2 separate regions of the Homo sapiens genome follow, and region 1 is linked to region 2. Evidence: promoter capture Hi-C in human tissues and cell types (Jung and others, 2019). All regions are on one chromosome and are shown on one strand. Each heading gives the region's core, a stretch centred on a gene start or on the middle of the fragment in contact. The rest is flanking DNA. Distances are from core to core; before and after follow the strand shown. Region 1 overlaps DOK5 (docking protein 5). Region 2 holds the start of DOK5 (docking protein 5).

What was found. The method cuts DNA at HindIII sites, captures the fragments that hold promoters and counts their contacts. A contact is called where the count stands out against the background at its distance.
Region 1: a contact is called between a fragment that was not itself captured here and the fragment with the promoter of DOK5 in region 2, in 2 of the 25 tissues and cell types used here (aorta and dorsolateral prefrontal cortex).

Annotation. Positions count from the first base shown.
Region 1 is chr20:54,528,924-54,533,232 of GRCh38, reverse strand. All of the region lies in intron 1 of DOK5 (docking protein 5), which reads right to left. Among named protein-coding and RNA genes, the nearest start is that of DOK5, 55 kb to the right of the region's middle. The HindIII fragment of the contact is 3,382 bases long and covers 838-4,219 here.
Region 2 is chr20:54,473,706-54,477,949 of GRCh38, reverse strand. DOK5 (docking protein 5) reads right to left here and starts at 2,357. Exons shown (of 8, transcript NM_018431.5): 1 at 1,938-2,357. The coding sequence starts at 2,003. The HindIII fragment of the contact is 11,986 bases long and covers 1-4,244 here.

The sequences.
Region 1 (4,309 bases), core at 1,279-3,778, 55 kb before region 2:
TGGCATCTCATGGGTAGGGACCAGGGATGCAGGCAAATATCCTACAACGCACAAAACAGCCCCCACCAAAGAATTTTCTGCAACAAAAATGTCAATGGTGTTGAAGTTGAGAAAAGGAAGGCATTAGGCAAAGAAGAGGATTCTCAAAATTAAAGCCATTATCCCAGATTTAAAAGGAATAATTAATCAGAATTTGGTCTACTGGATGAGGCAATGTACAACCAAAGTACTTGTCACGTTGGAAACCAACAAGATGACAAATTAGAGTGGCAAATGCCTTAGGATCAGGTAGACATAGATATCAACTTGTTTATCAAGCCAAGACATACCAGTTGTCCCAGGAGGATATACTTGAAATTTTAAAGCATTTTCAAACTTAGGTAGCACAATTAGCTCTGGGCCAGGAGGTCAGGACAAGGCCTGAGGAAATGCCACTCAGATCGCAGGTCTCTGAGCCTCCTGGTATCTTGCCCAAACTTGATCCTGGCTAGCAAAGTCACTGCCAGCAGGCAGACATAGAAAACAAGAGCAAAAGTGACACGGTGAAGATCACTCAGTATGAAAAGAAACAAAACAGAGGCTGAGAACAGCAGCAGTCCCGGCACATAAAGTCTTGAGTCTGCAGGCAACCTACAAGACTTGTGCCAAGCTGTGAAGATATACCCACCTCCAGCCTCCCACACACCAGGCTCCTTTCTTTCCTGAAACTATTGCCACCTTCCCCACCTTCTTTCTTGCACCTGGGCGCAATGCATCTATGTGGAACAATCTTCCCATTCCACACCCTTCCACTTGGCTACTTATCTTTTATGTATCATGTTACTTGTTCTAGGAAACCTCTCCTAATGCCTTCTTCTCTATAAACACAGAATAGGGAGAAGCATATACAATTAAAGTCAAGAACACAACCTCAGGAGCCCACCTGCCCACGAGCAGGTTAATTCCAAAATGTACATGCAGTGTGGCCTTGGGCAGGTTGTTTAACCTCTCTGTCCTTCATGAGATAATTGTAATCCTATCTACCACACTGGGTTGTCGAGAGGGTCAAATGAGTTACTACATTTAAATCACCTTAGAACAAGGCCTGGAATATAAGTGTTTAATAAATGAGAGATGCTCTTACTAGACTCCAACTTCCAGAGGTGGAGGGTATTTGTCTATAGCCTTCATTACTGTATCCCCAGCTCTAGCACAGGGATCACCATACTGTAGGTATTCAACAAATGCTTGCTGCATAAATCAATTACATGAGAGGCCCCTCTCATCCACACTCAGAACACATGACCTTTCTCCATCATAAACAAACTACACTTAAAGTAATTGTTTGTATAATTATCTCTCTTTAGACTGTAAATTCTATGAGGGGCAGAGCCTGCTTTATGCACTGCTCAAATTATAGTAATTGGGTCATGGTGAGCACAAAACAAAACAGTTTCCAAGTAAAATGAAGAAATAAATGAATCCCCAACTTAAAGAATACATAACATCAGTAGAGCCAGTGGCATTCACATAAATCTTTCTTTGCGCTTTCTTGGAAACTTTGTAAAGTTTTACTGGATTGCTTTTTCAAAGGATATGAAGAAAGTGAGAGCCTTTCCCCTAGAAACTAATTGGAACCTGACTTCCCCAAGACTTTGTCTCCAATAGTAATACGTGGAGGCAAGAGACTCAACTTCTATCTTCCTTGTATCCAAAGACAAAAAGAAGCTTGTAGGAGGTTGCTGAATATTGCAAAGCCCTGGAATGGCATTCTTACTCTGATTTGTTATAAAATGAGAGAAGCTGGTGATTTATTTCCTCTATAATATCAATTTATCCTTAGGTGTTCTATCTATAGTGAATTTTACCCAAACTCACTCAAAATTGAAAGACTTCCCTGGCTATAAACTAGGTTCTTGACGCTTTAGTCTTTTGGAGCTCTGGGGTTCTATGACTAAAATTGAAATTGACTCAAGATTCACCTGAGTGAGAATTTTAAGCTCCAGTGAAAGGCTTTTCCAATACCACATAATATATGAAAGTGGAGTGACACTAACAAACGTTCAGAATATAGTTTCACAGACATTCATGATGGACCACAAAGGCTCTAAGCAAGCAACATAATCCAAGCTTGGTAAGTTGTGAATAACATTCTCCATAAGACAAAAACAAACCAATTACTGAGGAAAGTCACAACTATTCTTTATAATTGGTCCAGACAGAAATATTGCCTCAAGCTCTTCATAACACATAGGAGTGTGGTTCAGACAGTCTCCATGGAAGGGCAACTTGACAAGAGTGTTCCTCATAATATACACATCTTCTGATCCTGCAATTCCGCTCACAGGAACTTAGCTTACCCCTTTATTCTTATATTCTTATGTGGGTCATATATATTCTTACATTTGGGAAATAATGGGTGTACAGGGTATTGCAGGGGTGAAAGGAAGCTTCCCTTCACCCTCTAAAGGCTGTCTTAAAAAATCAACTCAAAAAAGACAGATTAATAGGGGAAAAGGCATACAAATTTATTAACGTGCACATGGGAGAGAACCACAGAGTGAATACCCCAACTACCCGATGGGGTGCAGAAGCTTATAAACCATCTTGAGGTTACAGAAAGAATGAGGGCTCAGGATGGCCCAAATTAGGCTAGGCTGATAAACCAGGTTAGACTGGCAAGACAGGTCATGGGAAGTAGAGAAGAGGAGGCTTGGTTAGCAAAGGTGGTCTTGTGTAAATGAAATCAAACAGGTAGCAGCCCTCAGAGAGAAGAGATAGTAAATGTTTCTTCTTTAAAGGTGTCAGACTCTCAGTTAATCTTCCGTAGATCAAGACAAGGGTAGGGTTGGCTGCCTCAATGTAGACTCTCTACAGATGCAAATCTCGCCCATAGAAAACAGCTTTGCAGGTTGCTTCTGTCTGCTGGCCCCCTGAACAGCCATCTCAAAATATGTCAAATAAATAATGAGTAATAGGGCAGACTCTCAAGCCAGAATAGGCTTACAGAGACTTTAGCATAGCCACATAGTAAAAAAGGATTTATAGACACACACCAAATAAAGGACAAAGAAACAAAAGTGAGATACAGAAATAGCCAAATTGGTCACACCATGGCACTTGTGCATGATTTAAACAGTTGGTCATCTTTGATTAGCCAAAATTCAGTAATTGACACAAGAGTAAACTACAGTTGACAAAAAACCTTTAGGCTAAACTTAAAATATATAAAAAGAGACAGTTGTAGGCTAAACTTAATTTAACAAACCCAAATGTATAAATGGATGAATAGATAAACAAAATGTGGTCTATCCACACAATGGAATATCATTTAGCCTTAAAAAGGAATGCAGTACTAATGCATGCTACAACATAGATGAAACTTCAAAAACAATGTACTAAGTGAAAGAAGCCAGACACAAAAGACCATGTATTGTAGGATTTCACTTATACAACATTTCCAAAAGAAGCCAATGCATGAAAACAGAAAGTGGATTTGTGGTTTTCAGAAATTGATGGAAGGGAAAATGAGAAGTGACTACTGTTAATGGGTACGGGAATTCTCTATGGAATGATGAAAACGTTCTAAATTTACATTGTGATGATGGTTACACAACAGTGTAAATATGCTAAAAATACTGAATTATACACTTTAAAAGGATGAATCTTATGGTATATGAATTATATCCCAATAATGCTGTTTTTTTTTTTAAAGTCACCCTTATAAACTTGTTGTTGGGGGTAAAATTCAAAATAATTACAGAATGCCTGGCACATGCTATGCCAACAATAAAATCATCCTCATCTTGCATTTATTGAGCATTTATTAAGGGACAGCCTGTCACCTAATCAGCATTATCTTCTTTAACTCTTATAACAATTCCATGATTTATAAAGGAACTATTATTAGTAGTAGTATTTCAAGGTGAGAAGTTGAGGTTTAGAATATTAAAACTGCAATTGAAGAGCAATTATTGTTCAATGGAATATACTACTTCAAGAAAGCATTCCATATATTTTAGTCTTATTATTATAATTATGTCTATCTTCCTTAACACCCTAATGCCTTTGCATTTAATCATTAGAAGGCTAAGTGACAGCCAATAATTAGCATTTGTCATTAGAACTGTATCTCTGCAAATAGTTTTAGTAGAGATAAAAAGACCATGAAATCCAAATTGTGTATGCACCTGGTTGTCTCTCCCTGCTCAGGACCCAGAGAACAGTCATGCAGGAGGTGATCCATTCAAAGATGCAAAGATGCTTTAACATCAAAGAGTAGGTCCAAGCAAGATAGAGAATCATCTTTTCTATCATGTCGCTAATCTTG
Region 2 (4,244 bases), core at 1,108-3,607:
CTGTCCATAAATGTTGGCACACACATAGGGCTATGTTGTGTCAATTGTAATAATCTAGAAAAAATAATCTCAGTTACCACAAACAAGAAAGTGATGGTAACCAGTTTTTCAAATAAATTACCATGTGTCACAATTTGGCATAAACTCTGATCCTTATGAATAATTCATATTTTGTGCATTAATAATGCATGTCCTCTTCCCATTGGAATGCTCCCTAACACAGAATGGATGTCTCATACCAATTCCTTCCATTGACATGATGGAGTAAAGCTAAATTAGAATGCTGGGTTTTTTTTTTTTTTAACTTAACTCCCCTTAAAATTGTAACACTTGGCCAGCCTATAAGCATACCAAAAATAGAAAGTTCCCATTATTGTTTGCCCCTTACATGGGAGTCACTCAGTAAAGTACCCCCAACAATGGGTGCTCTTGAAGATGAGAATATTTGCATAGCAGAAAAGAAAACCAAGGAAACTTTGGCAGAGCTGATGGAAATGGTGAATTCTGTTACATTTCTCCCTAATTACATATGTATATATTCACAATAACACAGGACATAATCGCTAAAACATGGTCACCAGCAGGGGAGAAAAAGAAAAGAAAAAGACCAAAACGAATTAGGCAAGAGTTTTATAATAATTGCGGATGTTCCTCCCCACAGGGCTTCCCTCCCTAGCTGAGTTTACTACTGTGAAATTTCTTTTCAGTTTTCAGTAAAAGTATCTGGCACATTAAAACAGTCCAAAGACCAAGTAAGAGAAAGATGCCAAATGACACATATTTCTAAAGAAAGCTATTCAATTTACCACTCATTATCAATGGCGGCATTCCACACGATTACTGACATTATACTTATTTCAGGCATTACACCAAAGGATATTTTCTCCCCCCGCCCCCGCCACCTCTCCACCCCCACTTTTCACCCCTTATGTCCAAACGCACAGGATCAACTAAAACAGCGACAACACTTGATAGGAGGCAAAGAGAAATGAGGGACCTAGTTTGAAATTTTTAGGAAATAAAAAAATCGTTCCAGTATCTTCCCTCTCCCTCAAGAATTCTTCCACCATCATTCAGTCCCAAGGAGAGGAAGGGTAGGTTCTCTTTTGAAGCCTCCTCCAGCGAAGAGCCAAGAGAGAAAGGGGCGAAAGAGAGGGAGTTTTAAGGAAGGAGCTAGCCTGTGTCAACATCTGTCCCAAGTGCCCTAAGATTCATTCATTCTTCCTTTCAGGACATATGTAGGGAGCACTTGCGCTATGCCAGGTATCAGGTTCCACGTAAATAACCCTTCCGTGGACCTCCAGGGTGTATTCCAGCAACAGAAATCCACCACCCCGGCTTCGAACCACGGAAAATCCAGATTCAAGTATCTACCCAAGTTGGCCCCGACCAGAGGCCAGCCCGCACCGCCTTTGACACGACACCTGGGACAGAGGTGGGGGGATCCAAAGACACCTTACGCTTGGCAGAAATCTCTCCCTGGGGTCAGAGGGTTCGTGACCTCGTTCACACCGAGTATGCGTGTCCTCTTTCTCAACCAGCCGATCCATCCCCCGGAAAAGTTAAGTTGGCGGCGAGTGGGAAAAGAGGGGAACCGGGGGCATCCGGCAGGCACCCCCGCCCGGGCTTCTCAGCTCCAACTTCCATGGCTACCGAGAAATATTTATTTCGAGTAGATGGGCTCCAGGGGCTACTGAAGCCCAACACGCGGCCACCATCAGAAAGCCAAGTCATCCAAGAGATAAAGATAGATCCATTACATACCTAGACGCTGGCCTTACAGTGACAGCCCCGGAGACGCGGGTTTCGGCTGAGAAAGCCACCGCGCAATTCTCCGGCGCGCGGCCGGGGACTCTCCGTCCACCCTCCAGGGATGCTGGCTCAAGAGAGAGACAATCGAACCGGCGAACAGCAACACGGAGAGGATCGATACTCACCCCGAGGCGTCTGCTCCGGATCCTCACGTACCCTTGCTTCACTATGTCATTAAAATTGGAAGCCATCCCAGACAGCCGGTGACCCCCCCTTTACCCAAGAGCGCGCACCCGAAGTGGCTCTGGGGAGGGTGGAGGGCAGGGTCAAGACAAGCAGTCGGTGGGAGAAAGTTGGAGAGGTGAAGCTGCTTCGGCGGCGCTGGGCGAGGCTTTAGAAGGCGCACATCACTTTCTCTGTCCCCCCAACCCTGACAGTGGGCGGCCGGCTTGCAGCCACTTTCGGGGAGCGCAGAGCGCGGCGCGGGGAGGCGAGGCTGGAGCGCCGGCGTCAGCTGACTCCGCGGCCGGCCTGCCAGGAGGAGGAGCGGCGGCGGCTGAGGGATCCAGCCCTGCCTCCTCCCGGCCGAGAAGGAGGAGAAGAAGGAGGAGGAGGAGGAGGAAGGAGGAGGAGGAAAGAGGAGGAAGGGGTGGGGGGCTAAGAGGAGGAGCCGCGCGAGTCCCAGCACTGGGCTGCGGCCACCCGTGAGCAGCCGCCCTGGAACGCTCCCCGCGCCTCCCACCCACCTTTCCCTCCCCGCTTCCCCTTCCGATCCCTCCCCTCCTGGCGGACCCGGAGCGTGCCCCCGCCACCCCCGCACCTCGCCCACAGCCTACTGAGATAGCGCTCGCTCTCCTCGCTCCAATGACTTATTTTAGGAGGAGAGGAAATTTCACTTTTTTCCAGCCGCCGCCCACCCCGCCTCCCCCTTCAGCCCCTGCCCTTTCCCCGAGAAGGGCCGATTTTGCGTGTGTGTCTGGGGAGATGGTGTTGCCGCGGCTCGCCTTGACCTTGGCATCTGAGGAGAGGGATATTGTCACCGCTTAAGCCAAATGCTTCCTTGGGTTTCCTTGTGTCAGGGACCTAGCCCTCGCTGGTATCATTTGCCACAGTTTCCCTGTTTCAGCCTCTTTCCCGCCGGAATGTGTTTCCCAGGGGGCTGAGACTTGGCCTCATCACTGTCTGTCCCCAAAGCCTGACCCCAGAGCAAGTGCTCAGTAAATCCTTGTGGTTATCAAGATGGCCACCTAGGTGCCAGGCACTCTCCAAGCCTTTTGCATGGATTGACTCATTCAAACTCCCCTGCACTTTTTGAGGTAGGTGCCCTGTTAATGTATACACCAGGCCCATATTTAATTAAGCCTCCTTAGCCTGGCAATAGAGCTCTCATTGCCATTATGAGATACTGCCTATACAATAAGATGAAGAAGGGGACTGAATTTCACACTCACCTGCCCCTGACTGCATTACCTCCCTAAAGCATACTTGATTGATAATTGCTAACACACATTGAGCACCAGTGTGCTGGGCATTGTGCTAATCTTGTTAAGGGAATAATGAATTAGGCACCAGCATCCACATTTTACAGACTTGCTAAGGTCTCACAGCTGGCCACTATCAGAGCTAGGATTGAAGGGAGGTGTGTGTAGTGCCCAGCTCTGCTCCTAAACATTCTCCTATTCCTCTTCTGAAGAGAGGATCTCACAGAAAGAGAGGTTACTAGTTGATTTCCAAGGAAGATCTTTCTAATCATTTGCACTATTCACAAAGGCAAAGATAATCATCAGAAATTAGACAAAAATTCTTACTCACTGGGAAGCGACAAAGCTAAAGCTAGAGATCACTGCTCAGAGCCATTGAGAAGAGGATTCAGTTAGTAGTGGATTGTTTGACCTGATGACATCCACAGGTCTTTCAACTCTAAGACGATATGAATCTTCCCATTCTCACTGGGAACATTAGCTTTTAGTCACCTTGGCTTGATGAGTTTCAGTTAAAGAACAGAAACCTCCAAGAATGTGTCATAGGAGAACCGAGACTAAATGGGGACAATCAAAAAGGAGATATTCTGGCAGGGAGAACTATTTTTGCTACATAGTAAACCATCTGTCTTCATGTTGCCATTCTATGGAAAATGATGTTTTAATTTTAAATCTCTCACCAAAAGAGATGAAATGGTAAAATCATTTGGAGAGCTCCTTTTGAAGGATTGGAACTTAAAAAAAAAAATGCTGCCCATGGTTGCTGTAAAATAGAGGTGTTCATGGAAGGCATTTATCTAACACATCATTTATAGACCAAGTCCACAGTATTATAGAAACAAAAAATGAAGAAATTAAGGCATAAGGAGCTTGAAATGAAGGGCCCACAATAACGGAAATAATTACTGACAAAAACTGAAGGCGAGAAATCCATCCCTTGATAGTTAATGCTGACTATAATCAACATCCATAGATAATTTAACTGGAGCTGAGGAAACTAGAATCAAACCA